Regions from separate parts of the Homo sapiens genome. Here all the other regions are linked to region 3. Evidence: promoter capture Hi-C in 16 types of primary human blood cells and fetal thymus (Javierre and others, 2016). All regions are on one chromosome and are shown on one strand. Each heading gives the region's core, a stretch centred on a gene start or on the middle of the fragment in contact. The rest is flanking DNA. Distances are from core to core; before and after follow the strand shown. Region 1 holds the start of CCDC60 (coiled-coil domain containing 60). Region 2 overlaps CCDC60 (coiled-coil domain containing 60). Region 3 holds the start of SRRM4 (serine/arginine repetitive matrix 4).

Region 1 (4,359 bases), core at 1,860-4,359, 350 kb after region 3:
TCTCCACCCAGCTAGAGCTAGATTGGGAGATGCCATAAGACCAAAGAGCTTTTCTTACTAACTCTAGTTGGCCCCCCAAAGCACTAAATCGTTCTAGAAAATACTTCTGTTCATACGATTAAAAAAAACAACAGCTAGCATTTATTGAGCATGTATTATGTGCCAACTGTACTAAATATTTTATGTACATGATACCATTTTCACGAATGTACTATTATCTTCACTCTGTAATGAGAAAACCAAAGCTTTGAGCAGATAAGTTACTTAGTTAAAGTCACACAGCTGGTAAATGGCTGAGTTGGGATTTAGACACCAGCTCAACTAGTACTCCATATAGTCTCTCAATATCGGTTTGGAAAGAGCCTTAAATATCATGTAGTCTGACACCCCCAAGTGATCAAAAATCCAAGAAGCCATATGGCATTTAGTTGAACACCTCTAGTGCTGGGTAGTTTGTTCCCTCTCTAAAGAATATACCCCTTCCTAGACAGAGAAGGGAAATTCGTTATTTTGCTTCATCATCCTGGTAGCAGGTATAAAATTGGCATAACCATTCACTACACATGAGTTTTATACACGTGAAAAATTGAGGCTTGGAGAAGTGAACTTGACCCAGGTCTTATTGGTAACAAATGGCAGAGCCAGGAATTGAACGCATGTCTTTTCAGTTCTAGAGCCCTTCCTATTTCCAGTTCTTACATGGCTCTGACAGGTGAGTATTATAAAAACAACAAAGGAAATAAGGGCTAATATTTATTGAGCACTTCCTCCGTGCTAGGCATTGTGCTTTGCATGAGTTATCCCATTTGGTTTTCATCACAGTCCTATGAGAATTATCATTGAAGCTGCTCAGTGGCTAATTCAGTTGGATTCCAGAGGTCACACCTTTTAAAATTATGTTCTGCTGTGTACACATTTCTTCCTATTGAGCCCAAACCTCCTCCTATTCTTTGAGCTAATACAGAACTAGTTGAGTTCCTCTTTGCCAAGCCTGTTCTACAAAATCATATGAAGACAGCTTTTGTCTGTTCTGCTCAGGGCTGAACATTTCCCATCCTGCCTTGTTTTCTCATCCCCTCATCCCCTCATCCCCAGCCCTATCTCCCAAACATGATTCCCTTTATCTGCTTCATTCTGAAAGTGTCTGCCGATTGCTTAATGCTGCCCACAAAAGAAGCCGGAGAACCAAAACTTCCTGTGAAAGGGAAGGTCAGGGTCAGTCTTTAGGCAATGGTGAGAAAATAATGACTTTCAGGCACCAGCATCTAGAGTTACTTGGCTAGGTATTTTGCATTCTGTAGAGTGTCATCTTGCAGTAGATGCCTTCTAAAGAGAAGATGAGCTGGGCGCCATGGCTCACACCTGTAATCCCAGCAGATAACTTGAGTTCAGGAGTTTGAGACCAGCCTGGCCAACATGGTGAAACCCCGTCTCTACTAAAAATACAAAAATTAGCCTGGCCTGCCTGGTGGCATGCCCCTGTAATCCCAGCTACTCAGAAGGCTGATGCAGGAGAATCGCTTGAACCCGGGAGGCGGAGGTTGCAGTGAGCCGAGATCACGCCACTGCACTCCAGCCTGGGCAACACAGCAAGACTCTGCCTCAAAAAAAAAGAAAAAGAAAAAGAAAGAAAGAAAGAGAGAAGATGCAGCCATAATGATATCATAATCCCCAGCAGCTCAAGGTTGTTGGATAAAACAGGAATCAGATCGATCCAGTGTGAAACAATGCCAAGGATAAGGCATTCAAATCCAAACATACGAAATAAATCTGCTGCAGGCTGGGAACCTACCCCGTAGGGTTATTGGAAGGATTAAATGAATTAATGTATGCGAAGTGCTTAGTACAGTACCTAGCACAGAGCAAGTGATCAATAAATATCAGTTAGTACTAACATCTGCTGTGAAATGAACCCAGCACAGTGAGAATGCCTGATTCTTCCTCGGGAAGTGATGTCAGGGAATAATAATAGTACCACTTAGCTAGGACTCCCCATGGGCTCAGCCTTCATATGCATCATCCACTTCAATTCTTAACAACCTGTGGCAAAGATAGTATCCCCATTTTAAAGACATAGAAGCCAAACTCAGCAAAGTTAGGCATCTAAGTGGTTAAAAGCTTGCTCTTTAGACTCAAACAGTTCTGGCTTTGAATTTCAGCTGCAGCACATGCGTGACTTTAAACTTGTCATTTAATGTCTCTGTGCTTCAGTTGCTTAGGCTGTACAATGGGGTAATAAAACACCTTCTTTAAAGAGGTGCTGTATGGATTGAGTCAGTATGTGACACTTAGAACAGTGTCTAGCACATCCTAAGCACTCAATAAATGTCATATGCATACATGCCCACACACACAAATACGTATATACACACATATATACATGTCTACATATGTATATTCATATATGTGTATATGTATGTGTGTGCATATATCTATATCTATATACAGCTGTCCCTTTTCTTTGCTCCCACAATACCCTATGATACTTTCCCAGCACATCATAAATCATCCTGCCTTATAACAATGTTTCTTATCTTTTGCTCCCCATCCCAAACATACACACTATAGATCGTGAAGTCCTGAAGGTCTCATTTTTTTTAATTTCATTTTTACTTTATTATATTTTATTTTAGCAGAGTCAATAAATCTTTGCTAAATAAATGGAATAACAATATTTCATTTTATGAAATGAAGGGCTTTGAAGGATGAGCAGGAGTTTGTCAGGTGGAAAAACGGGAGAAATAGGCATCTCAGGTTAAGAATTGCAGGACTACAGGCCACCCACCCCAAGGCACAAAAAATTACTAGTGGGTTAGCAGCAGTACAGAGCAGAGTTTGAAAAGAAGGATTCGCTTGTAGTCAGGCAGAGAGAAAGGGTATGGTCCTCAGGCCTAAAAACAGAAACCAATTTGTTTAGAGAATGCAGCTCCGGTGGCAGCCGGCTGCTCTGAGCCGGCGTCCCAGCAACCTGGGAGAGTTCACGACCCCCATGACCCCGCCCCCACGAATTCCAGCCAATGAGGAAGCCCTCCTCGGCGTCCCGTTGCCAAGCAACTGGGTTCCCCCCACCCCCACCCGGCCCAAGGGTTAGCAGTTGCCTACTTTCCCCGCAGTGCGATAAACCCCTCGTTGGGGCCGCCTTAGTTCTCGGCCGCTCTCGGAGGATGGCGATCTGGGAGCCCCTCCATGGGACCCCTCTCACACTTTGTCACTGGAATTTTATTTATTTTTTAGTTCATATTTTATTTTGCTTATAGAAGAGAAAGATATCCCTTCCGAAGAGGAGGAAGCTTACAGAAGTTTATAACCTTTCAAAAAGTAAATAAGTCCAGGCTTGCCTGATTCTGCCCTACCCGGACTTCCTTATCCCGTCTGTGGGAGACCCAGGTGCTTTCTCATTACTCTTCAGAAGGAAACCGCTTTGGAGTTCGTGTAATTGGGACTTGGGGATCAGGGAGAAGTTGCCGAAACTTCTCATACCAGTAACTACTGAAGTAGAAGATTCTGGAAAAATCCTTGTCTTGGGGGCACAGGCTAAAACCTGAAGGATTTTTAAGATGACCAAGGTTCCAGCCACCAAGAAGCTTCAGAGTTCCCCCAACTCGGGGGCTGTCCGGCCCTTTTATGCCTCGGAGAACCTAAGGCAGGTAAGTCTCCCCTCTGCTGAAACCAATCATGTTTTCGAGAACAAGTGAAATAGGAATTAGCTGGGTCAAATGGTATTTCTAGTTCTAGATCCCTGAGGAATCGCCACACTGACTTCCACAATGGTTGAACTAGTTTACAGTCCCACCAACAGTGTAAAAGTGTTCCTATTTCTCCACATCCTCTCCAGCACCTGTTGTTTCCTGACTTTTTAATGATTGCCATTCTAACTGGTGTGAGATGGTATCTCATTGTGGTTTTGATTTGCATTTCTCTGATGGCCAGTGATGATGAGCATTTTTTCATGTGTTTTTTGGCTGCATAAATGTCTTCTTTTGAGAAGTGTCTGTTCATGTCCTTTGCCCACTTTTTGATGGGGTTGTTTGTTTTTTTCTTGTAAATTTGTTTAAGTTCATTGTAGATTCTGGATATTAGCTTTTTGTCAGATAAGTATGTTGCGAAAATTTTCTCCCATTTTGTAGGTTGCCTGTTCACTCTGATGGTACTTTCTTTTGCTGTACAGAAGCTCTTTAGTTTAATTAGATCCCTTTTGTCAATTTTGTCTTTTGTTGCCATTGCTTTTGGTGTTTTAGACGTGAAGTCCTTGCCCATGCCTATGTCCTGAATGGTATTGCCTAGGTTTTCTTCTAGGGTTTTTATGGTTTTCATGTCCTTTGTAGGGACATGGATGAAATTGGAAATCATCATTCTCAG
Region 2 (4,510 bases), core at 917-3,416, 390 kb after region 3:
ATGGTGACATGCAGCGTAATTTTAAATGGACAGTCACTTTCACTCTTCCTTGTTTATGATGTGTTCATTTCAATAGTGCATTAGGAAAACTCTAACAAGGCGTTTCAAAAGCATAATGTCGTGGATATTATTGCTTAGGAGAGAACTAAAGTAGATACTTAAGGTTTTTTGTTTAACGTTACTGTAAAGAAAAATATTAATAGTAAAAGTGGCAGTGCATGAGTACCACAATAGATTATGATGATTGTAAGTGAAAGTTTGAATTTTGGAAAACGTGGAATCAGGAGGAGGGGGCAATGTCAGGTTTAAGCTGCAGAGTGGGTGGCGTCTCCTTTACAAAGTACTGAAATGCAGTCAAGCTGACTGACCTGGATCTAACCCTGGAGCAACTTCAACTTCCTGATGCTAAATGGGGAGCTCAGAATATAACTCCAATTCCCTTACAGTCATAAAATGCCTAGCACATAGCATTTACTCAATAAATAATCTGTGATTCTTTTGGTGGTGCTTAAGAGAACACTGATTGACCTAAAGAAAAGCTGGCTCCAATCACTCTAAACCCCACCGGCAGCTATGTGACTCTGAGCCAGTTACTTAACCTCTCTGAGCCTCAGTTTCCTCATTTGCAAATAGGGGTTTTCATCAGTCCAACCCTGCTTATCACAATTGAGGCACTGTCAATAGAAGCTTGCTGCCAAACCACTTACTACATGCCTCTGAGTGTAGGACCATGTCTGTCACCGTGGTGAGCAATTTCAGCAAAGAGGAGCAGCGTGGTGGACTTGAAACTGCACTGGTGAAAGTTTATGCTTTAGTTTTGCCACCAAAAATCTGTGCAAACTTAGGCAAGATACTTTCTCTCCGGGGTGGGGTGGGGGGGGGTCTCAGTTCCCTTATCTGTAAAATGAGATGGGGGGCGTCCCCCTTCATTTCCACAAGTTCTCATTAATGGAAGCTTGGCTTAGCCTCTTTTCTAGCCATCCAGATGTTTCTAAAATACACCACTTCTGACATGGCAGAGACCAAACATGTGGATGATTGACTACATTTTTCACGTTTCATTTGTTATCTAGACAGGCTTTAAGTACATGGATAATGAACCTGGAATTTCAAATGAACTTGAGCCAATTCCTTTCTCACTCTCTCTTTGAGGCAAGAAAGGTTTCTTTGAAGGAAATGAAGAGAACTTTATCTTTTTTTTTTTTTCTGCTCCTGACAGAACACCAGCTCTTGCCCAGGGGCTGAGTAGTAGGAAGCCAACTTGCCAGAGGGAGAAAACCTATGCTGAAGAGGCAGTTTTCTGTGCTGGTTAGGTACACAGACTTTGAAATTCCAAAAGCTCTGGGTTCTAATCCCAGCTCTGCCACTTAATGGCTGTTAGACTTTCATCTAGAGACTTAAGATCTGAGGGCCTTCTCGTCCTTAGATGGATAATAATACCTTTGTCACTGGGTTATTGTGAGGATTAAATAGATTAAAATATTAAATATAATGTATTACACCACTCATCCATGGCAGCCATGAAGAAATTACCTATAAGGGTCAATGCTATTACTCTCCTCCTTTTTAAAGATGAGAAAACTAAAGCACAGAGAAGTTAACTGACTTGCTCAACTTCAGAGGTAGTAAGTATGAAGCTAGGAAAGGAAACCTTATAGAAATAATAAAGACAAATACATAGATAGTTGCAATCTGGACGGGAAAGGGTATGATGAGAGATGCTATAGAGGGGTGGTGGTGTTCCTGGAAAGGGGTCTTGATCGAGACCCCAAGAGAGGATTCTTGGACCGCACATAAGAAAGAATACGGGGCAAGTCCATAGAGTAAAGTGAAACCAAGTTTATTAGAGAAGTAAAGAAACAAAAGAATGGCTACTCCATAGGCAGAGCAGTGGCATGGGCTGCTTAACTGAGTGTATTTATAGTTAGTTCTTGATTATATGCTAAACAAGGGGTGGGTTTTTCATGAGTTTTCTGGGAAAGGGGCAGGCAATTCCCAGAACTGAGGGTTCCTCCTCCTTTTAGACCATATAAGGGTCATTTCTGGTTGTTGCCTTGGCATTTGTAAACTGTCCTGGCGCTGGTGGGAGTGTCTTTTAGCATAATGCATTAAAATTATGAGCAGTGAGGACGACTAGAGGTTACTGTCATTGCCATCTTGGTTTTGGTGGGTTTTGGCTGGCTTCCTTACCGCATACTGTATTATCGGCAGGGTCTTTGTGACCCATATCTTGTGATACCAGTCCTGCCAACCGCCTATCTTTCTGTGACTAGGAATGCCTAGCCTCCTGGGAATGCAGCCCAGTTGGTCTCAGCCTCATTTTACCCAGTCCCTATTCAAAATAGAGTTGCTCTGTTTCCAGCGCCTCTGACAGTGGGGTTTAGGGACAACGTGTCTTAAGAATGTATCCATATGGACAGAAACTTTTGCCCCATTGATGTGCTGGTAAATGTTTAACAACCAGCTTTCTGGAAAAAACAAACAAGCAAGCAAAAAACCCTAATTTGCAATGTTTGTTTGCCAGTTTCCATGGTGTAAATATTCCCACTGTGGCCAATTTCAAGCTATCGATCACTGAACAAAGAATTGGGAAGCAGATGCATACAATCAGCTCTCATGCAATCACCCTCACCAGCTAGTACACCATTGCTTTCTCCGCACTGGACTTGAAAGATCCCCCTGAGCTGTCTTTGCTGGGCCACATCCCTCCACCCTACCTACTGACCCATCAGAGAATGTCCCCATACAAATAAAATGTGTCCATGAGCCCCTCCCCCCAACTGTCTCTCTATGAATAGCTCACTGATGGCTGTGTTTTACTTAATCAATCAAAATAATGGGGTGTGGAGTCAGGGACTGAGAGACCAGAGTCCTTCGTCCACCTAAACTGCTCCCTGTATATGACAAAGACAGTTTTCAGCAGAATGAACAGAAATAGAGCCGTGGAGGGAAGTGGCTTGGATGTCATGAAAATTTCATGTGTTTCTGATGCATGCAGGATGCAATGTGGGGAAGTGGGTGAGCCAGAAGGCCCTGGGGACAGTTTTCGAAATGAATCAAGTCCTCAGCTTCTTCCTGCAACAACCAGCCCCTCCCTTGAAGCTCTTAGTATAAAGTCTGACAAACGTGGAGCCACCTAATCAACTTGCCCGTTGTCTCTTTAAAAGACCTCCTCTCCTGACTTTCCTCTGGTGAAAAGAGCAGAGTGGTAATCAGACAGAAAGGTCACATTATACCAAGAAATGTGGCTGTTGGAAGAGAGCCCACACACCCACGCCCATCTGGATTTGTGTGTTGGACACGTTTTCTTCTTGTATTTCATTAATAACAAAGAAAGCATGGCCACCTTCAGAAAAACGCACTTGCTAATACCCCAGTGAAGCTTAGCCCACTCAATTGGAACAGCAGAGGCAACCCTCTCTGAGCTGAAGATTGGGGTTTGCCAAAAACTGCCTTACACTACAAGGCTCATCCTTGATCACTTTGATCCCTCCTGTCCTATCTTTCCAGGAATACCTGCAGGTCTCCAATTAACCAGAATGAAGAAACAGGGCCGAGGGCAGTGGCTCATGCCTGTAATCGCAGCACTTTGGGAAGCTGAGGCGGGCAGATCGCTTGAGTCCAGGAGTTTGAAACCAGCCTGGGAAACATGGTGAAACCCCGTCTCTACAAAAAATACAAAAATTTGTCAGGCATGGTGGCACGCACCTGTAGTCCCAGCTACTTGGGAAGCTGAGGTGGGAGGATCGCTTGAACCTAGGAAATGAAGCTTGCAGTGAGCCAGAATTGAGTCACAGCACTCCAGGCTGGGCAACAGAGTAAGACTTTGTCTCAAAAAAATAAAATAAAATAAAATAAAACTCAGGGGATGGTCCTAAGTACACAGTGGTAATCTCAGGATGCTGGCTTCGTCTGGTTCATTCCCAAACCTCCCTTAGGCTCCTATATCCTTTAAACAGTGTGCCCCTATATATTTCCAACAGAGTGGCTACTTTATAGGCAATGGTATAAGTAGTTGGGGCTGGGGTCATTTACCCATTTTGGAATATTGGGGGATGTTCTGTAGCTGCAGGGATTTAGGGCTAGAGAAAGGCCTTGTCTTTCTCTGGGCTGGATAGTATTTGCAAGCTTCCACTAGACAATGTGGATGGAGACTAAGCCCTCAATATTCCAACTCAGGCCAGACACAGTGGCTCACACCTGTAAACCCAGCACTTTGGGAGGCCAAGGTGGGCAGATTACTTGAGGCCAGGAGTTCGAGACCAGCCTGGCCAACATGGTGAAATCCCATCTCTACTAAAAATACAAAAATTAGCTGGGTGTGGTGGCACGTGCCTGTAATCCCAGCTACTTGGGAGGCTGAAGTATGGGAATCGCTTGAGCTTGGGAGGCGGAGGTTGCAGCAAGCTGAGATCGTGCAACTGCACTCCTGTCTGGGCGACAGAGCAACACTCCATCTCAAAAAAAAAAAAAAAAAAAAAAAAAGAAAAAGAAAGAAAGAAAAAATTCC
Region 3 (4,168 bases), core at 1,589-4,088:
TTTTTAACTTTTATTTTAAGTTCAGGGGTACAAGCGCAGGTTTGTTACATAGGTAGACTTGTGTCACGGGGGTTCGTCGAACAGATTATTTCATCACCCAGGTATTTAGCCTAGTACCCATTAGTTATTTCTCCTGATCCTCTCCCTCCTCCCAACTTCCACCCTCCAAAAGGCCCCAGTGTGTGTTATTCCCATCTATATGCCCATGTGTTCTCATCATTTAGCTCCCATTTATAAGTGAGAACATGTGGTATCAGGTTTTCTGTTCCTATGTTAGTTTGCTAAGGATAATGACCTCCAGCTCCACTCATGTCCCTGCAAAGGACATGATATTCTTTTCATGGCTGCGTAGTATTCCATGGTGTATATGTACCACAACTTCTTTATCCAGTCTATCACTGATGGGCATTTAGGTTGATTCCATGTCTTTGCTATTGTGAGTAGTGCTGCAGTGAACATACACATGCATGTGTCTTTATAAAAGAATGAGCAGGTCTACTTTTAGTTCTTTGAGAAATCTTCATACTGTTTTCCATAGTTGTTGTACCAATTTACATCCACACCAACAGTGTATAACTGTTCCCTTTTCACTGCATCTACACCATCTATTTTTTTTTTTTACTTTTTAATAATGGCCTTTTGGGGGTAAGGTACTATTCGGGTGACAGGTATGTAAAAGCCCAGACTTCATCACTATACAATTCATCCATGTAACCAAAAAACACTTGCACCCTTAAAGCTATTGAAATAAGATAAATAAATAAAATAGAATAAGATCAGCTTTCTCTCCCACCTCATCTGGCTACGATGGGATTTTAAAAAGGCAATGTTTTGCATATGGGAGCTCTATCAACATTTTAGGGATTAGGAGCAGGCACACAACTGGAAGATGTTGACTGATCTTGTGGGGGTAGGATCCCACCTACCTCTCTCCTGCAAGTGACTCAGTTCATACCCTAAATGTCATGACTAAGGTTAGTTTTAAAGATGCCAGTCTGCTACCTATAAGAAGCCAGCTCTAGATTGCATTTACAATGATACCAACTTCTGGGTGGGAAACGGGGGTCTAGCCCAATCAGGGAATGGGGGATTTGGGGCGCAAGGTAAGAGGGAGAGGAAGGGAAGGGGTTAGCCTAGTCTCCACTTTGCTCCATCTCCAACCTTCCCAGGCCTGACCCCCACCTCTGGGCCCTCTCCCCCGGCAACCCACATAAGAAGCCAGCAAATGCACCTCTCGTTGTTGACCAGAAGGGGTCACTGCAGAGCAAGTAGCGCTCTCAGGCACTCAAATAAGCGGACGCAGGCGTGTCGAACACACACACTTCAAACGTAGATACCCTTTGGGGCGGGTACTCATTTACTCCAAGGTTCTTTCTTCTCCTGCCCCATCTTATCCTCTCTGTTGGCCTCTTCATCTTCACCTCCTAGTTACCTCCTGTTCCCCTTCAGAGAATTTCTGGAGTTCCCATTGTTCTCCCGACCCCCCCGCCCTACCCCGCCCTCATTGGGTCCCCATTGCTATCTGCTTTAGCAAAGAGCAGGAGTTTATTCTCGCTGTGACTGGGACTCAGCACCAGGTGCTTGGAGGCATTTAAGACTGAGCGAGGCCTCCTTCCAGGAATTTACAGCCTGGAAAGTGGAAGCGGGGTTGGGGGGAGGGGGAGGGCGTTAGGTGGGAGATGGGGGAGTAACAACTCTGCTAAGATTAAAAGGCTTCCAGGAAGGCAAGGGCTGAGGGGTCCCGCCACGATCTCTTTTTTTTATAATGAAAACCCTGGGGGAAAACAAGAGTCATTCTAACCAGATCTTCTGTGTCTGGGGTTGATTTGGGATTCTAAACCTCCACTTGCTTGGGATTACGATTGAACTGCGAGGCGGTAAGGAGATGGGGAGGAGAGACCGAAAAGTAACTATCCCCCTGCTAATCCTCGAGATTTTCCTCTCCAACCCTCCCACTAAGCGCTTTCTTTTCCAAAACGTACTCCTTTCCCGAGACTAGCGGCATTAGGAAAAGTGGCTGCAGGCGGATTCCCCAGGAGTGGATGGGGGTGGGGTGGGGTGAGATGGGAACTCTTTCCTCTGGACGGGGTTGGCGGCGGGGACGCTGGGCAGGCCGGCTGTGAGACACAAAAGAGATACCCTTGACAGCTCCGCATGCACAGATGTAACGCTGCGCCCCTTGGCGGGCGGGGGCCCTGCTCGGCAGATGGCGAGAAGCCGAATTGGTGAGGGATTGTCTATCAAATGGCACTTTCTGGGTGGTGGAGACCTCGCTAACCCCCGGCGCAAAGAGGAACGCAGGGCACCCTCTGTACCGGCCTAGGCCGTGTCTCCCAAAAGTGAGGGTCTGGGGGAGGCCGGCTGGGGTGGATAGATTAAGTTTTTTACGAGCCCCCCCAACCCCCCCCCCCCCCCCACGCAGAAGATCAGCTACAAGACTTGCGAAGGGGCTGGAAAGAAAGGTGGCCTGGCCCAAAGGGGGCACCCAGGAAAGGGCTGAGGAAGGCCAGCGATGATGGGAGAGGAGAGGGGCCTGGGAAGCAGGATCTCCTGCCTGGCGCAGATTGGGGTGCCAGGATGGCTTCTCAGAGGGATCAGCGCTGCAACTCGGTCGCCGCGGGGCCCTGGTGACAGGCGCACGCCCCGCCCTTTCTCCTCCCAAGACCTGCGGGCTTTTGTTATGCAGATGGCGGCAGGAGGCTGAGCCTGAGGAGGAGGGGGTTGGTGGGGAGGAGGAGAGACGGAGAGGGGGGAGGAAAGTGCAGCTCGCGCGACCAGCCTCCTCTTCCAACGTCACATTGTGCGAGAGACAAAACCCGGGCGCGCCGGAGCTCACACGCGCACGCACACACATCCGACCCCGTCGCCTCTTCTCTCCTGGTGCTGCCCAGAAAGCCAGCCCTCCCTTCCCTTCTTGGGGCGCAGAGGCTCAGCCAGCTCAGAGCGCAGCCTGGAGCCGACCCAGAAGGGCGAAGAAAGCCCAGCGGACGAGCCTCCTTTCTCTGCTGCCTGCCCGGGCTGGGGCGTCCCATCCCCCGCCCTGAACTCCGATCTCTCCCACCCCACCCCTCTCTGGGTTTCACCCGGACAGAGCCGGGAGCTGGGTGTCGCCCCCGTTTGGAATCCACGTTTCAGCACTTTGGACAGCGCCCCGGACGCCCCGGCCCCTTTGGGTTGGCGATGGCGAGCGTTCAGCAAGGCGAGAAGCAGCTTTTTGAGAAGTTCTGGCGAGGAACCTTCAAAGCGGTGGCCACCCCCCGTCCCGAGAGCATCATTGTCGCCAGTATCACGGCCCGCAAGCCGCTGCCAAGGTAATGATCTCCTTCTTAGAAGGGGGGATCCTGAAGGTCCTCCTTTCTGGCCTGTGCCCCAGAGCCCGGAGGGGTGGATGCAGGCAGCCGGGCCAGGGCGCCTGTCTTTTCCCGTCACTACTCGGCGGCTCCCGCTGAAACATGGGAACTCATTGCTTGTGTGAGGTGGAAGATGGTGAGAAGGGACAGGAATTCTTTGGGGGAAAGCAACGCTTATTGGACCCCCGTAGCTCCTATTCAAGAGGTTTTGCTACCTGAGGGTGGGCGGTGCAGATGGGGTACGACTTGACTGAAAAACTTTTCTTGGTGTCACAGAGTCCAGAGGGCAGGTGGGCCAAGGAATGGTGGATTTGAGATGTTTGGGGGGTGTTGTACCAGAAAAGGAGAACTGAGCCAGCTCAAGCAGCGTTCAGAGATAGCACACATTTCCATCCTCGGCTCGGAAACTAGCGAGCTTTGAACATTTTTGACAAAAGCCCATATGCTGTTCCCTCAAATACACCCAAAACAGCACCCTCCTCCACGCCTTTCTGGCGGCTGCTGCCGCTGCTGCTGAATTCTCTCCTCTCCAGCATCCAAAACCAAGACTCTGAGCTCAGGAGTCAGGGAGGAGCCTTCCAAGATCGTGAAGATGATCTTGGAAGAGTTTTATTTTGTTTTTTTTTGTTTTTTTTTTTTTTTTCCAAAAAGAATCTGATTGCTTTGAACTCAGGGATGAGAACCGATCCTTGGATGGTGGTAGACATGGTGCTGATGGAAGGAAGAATAAGGGAAGAAATGAAAGAAACAGGGGAACAGGAGGTGGGGTGAGAGGGAGAGGAGGTTGGGGGAAAATGGAAGCATTCCAAGACAGAGAA

What was found. The method cuts DNA at HindIII sites, captures the fragments that hold promoters and counts their contacts. A CHiCAGO score of 5 or more calls a contact.
Region 1: a contact is called between the fragment with the promoter of CCDC60 here and the fragment with the promoter of SRRM4 in region 3, in 9 of 17 cell types (M1 macrophages, endothelial precursors, neutrophils and 6 more). The highest score is 14.5, in M1 macrophages.
Region 2: a fragment that was not itself captured here is called in contact with the fragment with the promoter of SRRM4 in region 3 in 1 of 17 cell types (M2 macrophages); the score reaches 5.2 in M2 macrophages.

The regions. Positions count from the first base shown.
Region 1 is chr12:119,331,620-119,335,978 of GRCh38, forward strand. CCDC60 (coiled-coil domain containing 60) reads left to right here and starts at 3,110. Exons shown (of 14, transcript NM_178499.5): 1 at 3,110-3,647. The coding sequence starts at 3,558. The HindIII fragment of the contact is 1,172 bases long and covers 2,117-3,288 here.
Region 2 is chr12:119,372,795-119,377,304 of GRCh38, forward strand. All of the region lies in intron 1 of CCDC60 (coiled-coil domain containing 60), which reads left to right. Among named protein-coding and RNA genes, the nearest start is that of CCDC60, 40 kb to the left of the region's middle. RefSeq lists an enhancer at 3,052-3,111. The HindIII fragment of the contact is 2,427 bases long and covers 954-3,380 here.
Region 3 is chr12:118,978,703-118,982,870 of GRCh38, forward strand. It overlaps SRRM4 (serine/arginine repetitive matrix 4), which reads left to right and starts at 2,839. Exons shown (of 13, transcript NM_194286.4): 1 at 2,839-3,311. The coding sequence starts at 3,181. The HindIII fragment of the contact is 13,569 bases long and covers 1-4,168 here.